3 separate regions of the Homo sapiens genome follow, and regions 1 and 3 are each linked to region 2. The links are contacts of gene promoters, found by promoter capture Hi-C in blood cells and fetal thymus (Javierre and others, 2016). All regions are on one chromosome and are shown on one strand. The core of a region is centred on a gene start or on the middle of the fragment in contact, and the rest is flanking DNA. Distances in the headings are between cores, read along the strand shown.

Region 1 (2,700 bases), core at 188-2,687, 74 kb before region 2:
AATACACAGAGAACCAAGAATTATAAATGGAAATTTATAATGTGAGCTCGAGATAGGGGAGAACAAAGCGATAGTCTAGATTCAGCAGTATAAACTTCAGAGGAAGTTCCATCAGTTCAGCTCAGCTTACTCGCCAGCTTACCTGTCTCTCTCCACGTCCTCTGAAATGCAAATAATCAATGCCCACGGGGTACTGACCTGCACAGTTGCCTGCCTTCTTGACTGCCTGCACACTCCTGCTCCAACTCGCTTATCAGTGTACTTGTTCCCACTCTGCTTATTTTAGCTTTATTTCTTATTTTATTTTTTTAGAGATGGAGTCTCACTCTGTCACCCAGGCTGGAGTGCAGTGGCACGATCTTGGCTCACTGCAACCTCTACCTCCTGAGTTCAAGCAATTCTCCTGCCTTAGCCTCCCACGTAGCTGGGATTATAGGCACCCGCCACCATGGCCAGCTAATTTTTGTATTTTTAGTAGAGATGGGGTTTTGCCACGTTGGCCAGGCTGATCTCGAACTCCTGACCTCAGGTGATCCGCCCACCTCAGCCTCCCAAAGTGCTGGGATTACAGGTGTGAGCCACCATGCCCGGCATTATATTAGCTTTAAATGTATTTACAATTACACTAATTGAATATGATGTAACCTGAGGAAAAATACAAGTTCAAAAGGAGAGATGTCCCCATAAAAACTATGTTGGATGCTGTTAAAAGCTTTGATAAAGGGATTGTTAAAATGACTCATTAGGCATGTGCAAGGCAGCTGTAAAAGACCAGGAAGAAAAATTCTAAAACTCTAAGACTTCTATGGTATGGAGATAGCTTTGGAAGCTTCTTTACGTTCTCATTCCACATTAAAGTAAGAGAAAGGGACATTTCGGATGCATCGTGGTTACAGAACTCCTATCAGAGGATCCAGACCCAAAAGATAAATCAAAAAAGCTCTTGGCAAATGAACTTAAAATGAGTTAAAATATAATCGTTTTCCACTTTACCTGACTTTGAGTAATCAACCATCCACCCATATAGTTAAGGGCATTCTATCTACTACATTCTAAAAATAGGGAGAGGAGACAGCCAACCCGAAATCATGAAAGAAATTAAGGCAATCTATGAGCACCGTTAAATTAATTTTTTATGAAGTTGTAATGCCATCAGGCCTGTATTGTTTTTTCTTTGCAAAGTCATGGCTCAGGAAACTGACAAATACTAGATACTTTGTAATCCCAAAGAGAAGAGAGCTTTAAAGCTGTAGAGGAACACAGGGAGAGAGGCACGTGCTACAGGTTTGCTTGGGTGAGAAGGGTTTCATGAGGACAGAAGTGAAAGTTATGGAATCCAGTTTGAACTCGAAACATACAGGGAAGCAGCCACAAATGGGTATGATTCTCAGGAGAGATAACTCTGAAAAAATATTAAAGGAAACATGAAGAACCATTGGAGAAAAAGGGCAAAAATCTACTCCATGGTTTCCCTAAAAGGATTTTGTTTTCTCTAACACATGAAAACTCCAACCAGAAACATTTTAGCTGCTCTAAATCACATCTGTGAATTCTGCAAGTTTCTGCAAGTTACTGCGAGTCTAGGAGTAAATCAGTAACGAAGCCGGCGCAAAGAGGAGAGAGAAAAGTGCTTAGTTATTGCTAGGTCTCAGTAGTAAGTCTTGGATGCTGAAATAATCAGTATTTTCCAGGAGGAGGGTGTCACTTGGGGGCGCCTAAAGCCAATAGATTCTTAGTTAAAAGGAAAGGCTGTTAGGCACTGGCCATAGTGCCAAGAACGTGAACTTCATCAACACCGAAGTCTACAGACTCAGGGTAGTGGCGAGCATGCTGAAGTTATGAGATACCGCAGATCAGCAGAGATAAAGAGGAACTGAGTTTATCAAACTCAGGTCCAAGAGCACAGAACTCCCCTGACCTCCGAGAACGAGCCGGCCCTGCCCTCCTACATGTTTGCTGTTGATAATCTTCCGCCCGCCCTCGCCCTCAGTCTTTTGGGCTGACACTAAGATCTAGGCACTAGCTTGACCTTCCAGAGTGTTTCACAAGCTTCCAGGATCTGGTGTACTAAGAATATGACAAACTTTGTCAGATAACATCTGTCTCTGCCTCTTGCCACGCTGACAAACTGTTGGAGTCTGAAAGTTCCCGTGCTCCAGTATGCACAGCCTGGACATCCTGCAGTTCTCAAAACCCCCTGCCTCTAAAGGCTGAGTTTGTAGGGTGCTTCAGAGCTGCCTGGGGCTGGGGGGCAAGAGTGATATCAAAGTGGTGTTTTAGTGAGAATAATCTCATCATGATGGGCACAAGAGATTGAAAATAGAGACTGGAAGTGGGAGACCAGTTAGGGGACTTCAGTTAACAATCACCTCCTTTGTCTCAGGAACTGGATGAGGCTCAGAGAATACACTGCAGGACAGAAATAATGGCCTGGGCAGATCCAGATGCGAGTAGGAAGTGAGCTTTTGCAGCAGTAACTCAGAGCAGCCGAGCTGCAGCCTAGATGAGGGCCGTGGCACTGGAGGTGGAGAGGAGGGATGGGCACTAGCAAGAGAGTAGACAGAGCAGCCACTGAGGCTATCTAGAAACAAACAGTACACATCAGCGATCAGTTTATCTTCAGCTGCAAAAGTCATATATTTAATTCCAACCATATGTAAGTGAACAAAGTATGGAGTGAAACAGTAAAAGCCCCTCCTC
Region 2 (2,936 bases), core at 96-2,595:
TGTTCCTCTTCATTTCTCAATGTCAACAAGTCCAAAACTGACATGAACCCTCCTGATCTTCAGCCCCAAACTTGCTCCTCTTAGTCTTCCCCTTTGTAATTAATGGCAACCCAATCCTTCTGAATTCTTAGTATAAAAACCTTGGAGTGATGCTTGATTCCTCTCCCTCTCTCTCAGATCCCACATCAATCCATATCCAAATCCTATTAAATCTAATTTCAAAATATATCCAGAATCCAATCCCATCCCATCCCATTCCCTCCACTGCCACTGCTCTGATCCAAGCCACCTCTCTCCTTATTGCCATTGCCTCCTAACTGCTTTTCTTCCTTTCCCTGTCCCCTTCAGTCCATTCCAGCACAGCAGGCTGGATGCACCTTTAATACTTCCATGGCTTATCGGGCCTAACCCTGTCTGGCTCTCTGTAACTCCTCCTGCCTCACGGAGCCACTTCTTTCCTGCTCTACTGCAGCCAGCTGGCGTCCCTCCTGCCCTGGCCTTTTGTAGGATTCCCTCTCTCGTAACAAACATTCTCCCCCGAGACATGCACGAGGCTGCCCACTCTCACCGCCTTCATGTCTTTCTCAAACGTCCCGTTCTCCACGAGGCCTTCCTGACCACGCTATTAAACCTAACGACTTCTCCTCGGCACTCCCCGCCTCCCTACCCTACTTAATTTTTCTCCAATGCACCTATCACCATCTGCCACACTAAGATTTTGCACATTTATCTTGCGTATCTGTTTTCCCCCAACTACCAAGTAAAATGTGCATCCCACAAGGACCGGGAATGCTGTTTGCTTAGTGCTCTATCAGCAGACCTTAGAAACGCATCTGCACACAGTAGGCGCTTCGTGGATTTACTCCCACGAGCTTGCACCACGCTTCCCCTCCACACCAGGCATGAAGATGTTCCAGTCATGGAGATTCCCACCACTAAAGGAACTGCAGAAGCTGTAAATTCGGGCATGAGAATCTGAGGAGAAACGTGCCGAGGCAAGAGGCTGGGTAGCCCCTGTGCAGCACGCAGTTAGCCGGGGCTTCAGCGCCGGAGCTCCCCGTTGGACGTGTTGCGCTGACCCAGCTTTCCCGCCTTCGAGGGCGGCCAGAACCTTGTGTCCCGGCCCCACCCACACCAGCTCAGGCTGAGAGAATCTCACAGGGCTTCACTGGGTCATCCGTGACCAGCTTTGGTCGGTTCCTGCCTTGGCGGGAAAAGTTGACCTACATTGCGTGCCAGGAGCGCAAGGCTTGCAGGGCATGCTGGGAGAGCGCAGGGAACGCTGGGAGAGCGCGGGAAATACTGGGATTGGCTCCCGAGGGCTGTGAGGAGGGCACGAGGGGACACTCCGATGAAGGCAGGGCACGCGGGGCGAGCCGGGAGCGTCTCCTGAGGGCAGCGAGGAGGGAGCTGAGGCACGCGGGCTCTCAATCGACGCCCCACAGAGACCAAGAGGCCTGGCCTTGGGGGGCAGCTGCTTGAAGGAGGCAGAGCGGAAGCGAGGGAGACTGCTGGAGGCCCTGCCGCCCACCCGCCCTTTCCTCCCCCTGAGGAGACGCCTGACGCATCTGCAGTGCAGGAGGCCGTGGGCGTTAGAAGTGTTGCTTTTCCAGTTTGTAAGACCATTTTCCTGATTCTCTTCCCCACGGTTGCGGAGGAGCAGGTCAGGGCCGCCATGAGGGCAGGATCCCGGTGCCGGCGCCGGCACCCTGAGGACGTTGGTTTGGGTCAGGAAAAAAATGTATTCATCTGCAAAGACCCATGAGTCCCAATTTTTCGGGCATTTCATTATATCGGAAATTTATAGAATCACCTTTTAAAATGGATTTAGCTGAACAAAGACCTTAGATTCGTTTCCACTCACGTCCATTACTGTTCTCACAGAAGCCAGGCCGGAAGAGGGGTGGGCGCTCGCCTGGGGGCAGCGGCAAGCCGGGTCTGGGGCCGCCCTGAACCCCGCGCCCCGGGAGGATTTTTAGGAAGGGTCCCTCGTAGCGGCGGTCCCGAGGCTTAGCGCACAGCACTGCAGGAGCTGGGCGCTCCCAGAGTTTTGGTCCTTTGGGGTTCTCTGAGTCCTCCCTCACGTGTAGAATTGCGTAGGTGCCTGTTGCCTGCTCCTAGCACTTGTTCCTTGCCCTGCTGGGGATTGGGAATAAAGATGAAATCCTGGGACAGAAACGTAGTGGAGCGACTCCCTGGACAGGATGTTAATAGCGCATCCGTAGATCATAATAAGGCTTGGCCCACGTTTTGAGCTTCACAATATAGTTCTACAGCCTAGCCAAAGAAAACAACATTCTTTTTGAATCTGCAAGTTTTGCCAACTAGGAACTCACAAAATTAAACAATAGTAATAATTCTAATAAATTCATGCTTATCCCTGAACAGATCACTCTTGTTTACATACAGTGTTGCAATCCGTGAGTATTTGAAGATTGGCAAAACGGGAGGACTTGCACCCAGGAATTTTTTGGTGACCTGGAATTTACATTCCTACTGTATTACATTCCTGCTGGCATTGCCAGCATTCCTCAGATGACACCACAAACTCATTTCAGTACTGTGATCAGAAGGCTGGTCACACTGCACATTCCCGGGCCAGTATATTATTCTTTCTTAAAAAGAAAAAGCATGTTGATGTTGAAAAGTTGAAAGTACTAGAGTCCAGCTTACTTTTCCCTAATGTATTTGTGCATGTTAGTGTACTGAAGCTTCACTGGGTTGCTTTACTTTTATATTCCAGTTTTTGTTACTGTAGTAAAATGTAATGTAGACTTCAAAGGTATACCTTATGAATTATCAACTGTAAACTGTGCCTCCAATAGAATTTGAAAGCTGGATAATTTAGTGGAAACAAAAACTAGGTAACAATTTAGAGACCAGTAAACATTTTCTGTCGTGTACAATGAAAAATAATATATTCCTCAACCTTGAAG
Region 3 (2,785 bases), core at 186-2,685, 110 kb before region 2:
TCCTTTTTCTTCCTGTAAGCAAGAGATGAAACCCTGTGTGAAAGATGCCCCCCCTCCACCAGGAGAAAGGAAGAGATCCTTGTCATCAGAGTCAAAGCCCAGGGTGCTCTACAAACAAACCTTGTGAAGCCAACACTTACCTTCCTGGTCATTTGCCCCCAACTGACTGCCCTACCCAAGCCCCTTTGTCTTGTCATGTTTCCACAATTTATGACACTTTGTTCAACCTAGTGCATAAGTTCGTGGCCCCAACTCCTTCTTTGGGTCTTCGTTTTTCTTGTGAGGGCTCCCATGTCTATACAAAAATTACTTAATAAAATCTGCCTACTTTTCTCCTCTGAAGCTGTCTCTGTCAGTGGATTCACTGGGCTCATCTAGCAACTCTAAAAGGGCTGAGGAGAAATTTTGCATCCCCAACACAAACTAAAACCTGAAAGATGACTTAGCTGCTCTAAATATTGACCTGGTCATCTATAAAATCAAGGTAAGTGTTGGAAGTTTGCTGCATCCCCCCAAAAAGATATGTAAATGTGACCTTATGTGGAAATACAATCATTGCAGATATCATTAATGTGTGAATGAAGATAGATCATACTGGATTTGGATGGGCCCTAAGTCCAGTGCCGGGTGTTCTTATGGGAAGAGGTGGGACACAGAGAGATACACATGCAGAGGCCAGGCGAGGACAGAGGCAGCGATTGGAGTAATGTACCCACATATCAAGGAACAGAGAGGATTGCCAACAACCACCTCTCCAGAGGCTGGAGGAAGCAGGATGGACCCTCCCCTAGAGTCTTCAGAGGGAGAATGGCCCTGAGGACACCTTGATTTTGGACTTCTGGCCTCCAGAGCTGTGGGAGAGTAAATTTCTGTTACTACACCACCTAGTCTATGGTACTTGGTTACAGCATCTCTGGGCAACTAATACAGTGGGCTGGCTGTGAGGATTAAATGAGATTACGTAAGTAAATGCTTGTTCAGTGTTATATATCATCCCCTTTTTTTTTTTCTCTTCCCTAGGAACTAGAAATAGAAATAAACCCAAGAAGGGCTTTGATAATGCTGCTGTCACCTGAGAACTTAAAGGTGAGTCCTGCTGTGCTTTGATCAATCTAACCAAAACGCACAACCAGATTATGCATTCAGAGGCTCAGAGATTTGGAGCTGAGGGGTTTGACCCCACAGATATGAGGGGTATCTGCATGAAGCCTTACAGGAAAGGGTCTCAGTCTGAGCTGGTGACTGGATGCCTCAATGGGCCCCAACCCTGGGCAGGGGGTCCTTGGGACATGGGAGGAGCAGAAGCTGCCAAGTGAATTGTTTTGCTCTGTGATGGCAGAAGGACCTCAGGCCAGTCAGAGCCCAGGACCCCAGTGATTGGTAAGATGAGGGACACAGGTGATCTCCAAGTCCTCTCCATCCTCTCACTTCAGTAGCGCAATGAGTCCAAAATGTGGGGATCCAGGAATCCCAAGAGACCAGCCCCTGAGGCAGTGATACCATATGAGTTGTGCTATTCCAAAAGGACATCTCAAATCCATATTTATGCTTGATGCCCAATCCTACTCAATCCTCTATACTTGTGAGAGTAGCTCAGTTGCTGGAAATCATTTTTTCAGTTTCGTTGAAGATTAGTTGGCCTCGAGGCTCTGGTCTAGTAGAAGAGAAGTCCAGCGTTTGAATCAGATCATGGAAGATGGCTCTAGAGGAAGCTGATGTGCACATGTGTGGAGCCTGGGGGTCACCAGCCCAGTCACAGCCACGGCCCACGAGGGTCACCAGCCCAGTCACAGCACGGCCCACAGAGTACGGTCTTCCCATGGCCACAGAAGGAAGGGCTGGCCTCCCTGGCCATGATGGTGCTCTCAGTGCCCACGTGACGGGGATGGCACCATGTTCTTCCCCAGGGCTGCCATAACAAGGAACCACACCCAGGAAGACTTAGATACAGCTGTGGAAGCTGGAATTCCGAGATGAAGGTGCCCAGGGGCTGGTTCCTTCCGAGGGCACGGAGAGAGAAGCTGTTCTTGGCCTCTCTCCCTGCTTCTGGCAGCTGCTGGCAACCTTTGGTGCTCGTTGGTGTGCAGAAGCATCACCTCGACTTCTGCCTCCATCTTCACAGGGCCTTCTCCCTGCATGCATGTCTGTCTCCGCATCCACATTTCCCCTTTTGAAAAGGACACAGTCATACTGGCTTAGGGCCCACCCTAATGACCACATTGGAATTTGATTGCCTCTATAAAGACCCTATCTCCAAATAAGGTCACATTCTGAGGTACTGGGGGTTAGGACTTCAACATATGAAATTTTAAGGGACACATTTCAACCCATAATTGGTGGGTGCCCTTGCCCCGGGACTCCAGCTTCAGGGGAGCTGGGGGAAGGCCTTAAAGGCTGTAACACACAGTAGCCACATGGACAGGTTTCTGTGGCTTGCCTTCCAGAACCCAAGGCTATGCGGCTGTCAGACTTTTTTAGCATCTAGTGTCAGAAACACAACTCAAGCAAGTTTAGGCATAAAGGAAATTTAACAACCTCTGGAATCAAAAAAAAAAAAAAAATGGGTGGGGATTGTTCAGCCAGATATAAGAAGGCCAGAGATGCAGCTGCCTTCAAGGATAGCTGGGTCAGGCCTTGACCCCACGAGGATCTCCTCTCTGCACGTCAGCTCCCTCCACGCGGTGCAGCTGGCTTCCTTGGTGGGCCAGGAACAAGGCTGCACAGTGGCCTCACAGCCTGCGTGTCAGGGATGGGCTCCTCTTTGGCTCTGCTTCAGAAAGTCCCA

What was found. The method cuts DNA at HindIII sites, captures the fragments that hold promoters and counts their contacts. A CHiCAGO score of 5 or more calls a contact.
Region 1: a contact is called between a fragment that was not itself captured here and the fragment with the promoter of C18orf63 in region 2, in 1 of 17 cell types (erythroblasts). The highest score is 5.2, in erythroblasts.
Region 3: a contact is called between a fragment that was not itself captured here and the fragment with the promoter of C18orf63 in region 2, in 4 of 17 cell types (M0 macrophages, M2 macrophages, erythroblasts and 1 more). The highest score is 8.6, in M0 macrophages.

Annotation. Positions count from the first base shown.
Region 1 is chr18:74,240,872-74,243,571 of GRCh38, forward strand. No RefSeq gene overlaps it. Among named protein-coding and RNA genes, the nearest start is that of CYB5A, 50 kb to the right of the region's middle. RefSeq lists an enhancer at 1,743-2,037. The HindIII fragment of the contact is 1,220 bases long and covers 828-2,047 here.
Region 2 is chr18:74,314,494-74,317,429 of GRCh38, forward strand. It overlaps C18orf63 (chromosome 18 open reading frame 63), which reads left to right and starts at 1,346. Exons shown (of 14, transcript NM_001174123.2): 1 at 1,346-1,616. RefSeq lists an enhancer at 1,554-1,723. The HindIII fragment of the contact is 4,843 bases long and covers 1-2,709 here.
Region 3 is chr18:74,201,327-74,204,111 of GRCh38, forward strand. No RefSeq gene overlaps it. Among named protein-coding and RNA genes, the nearest start is that of TIMM21, 54 kb to the left of the region's middle. The HindIII fragment of the contact is 6,951 bases long and covers 1-2,785 here.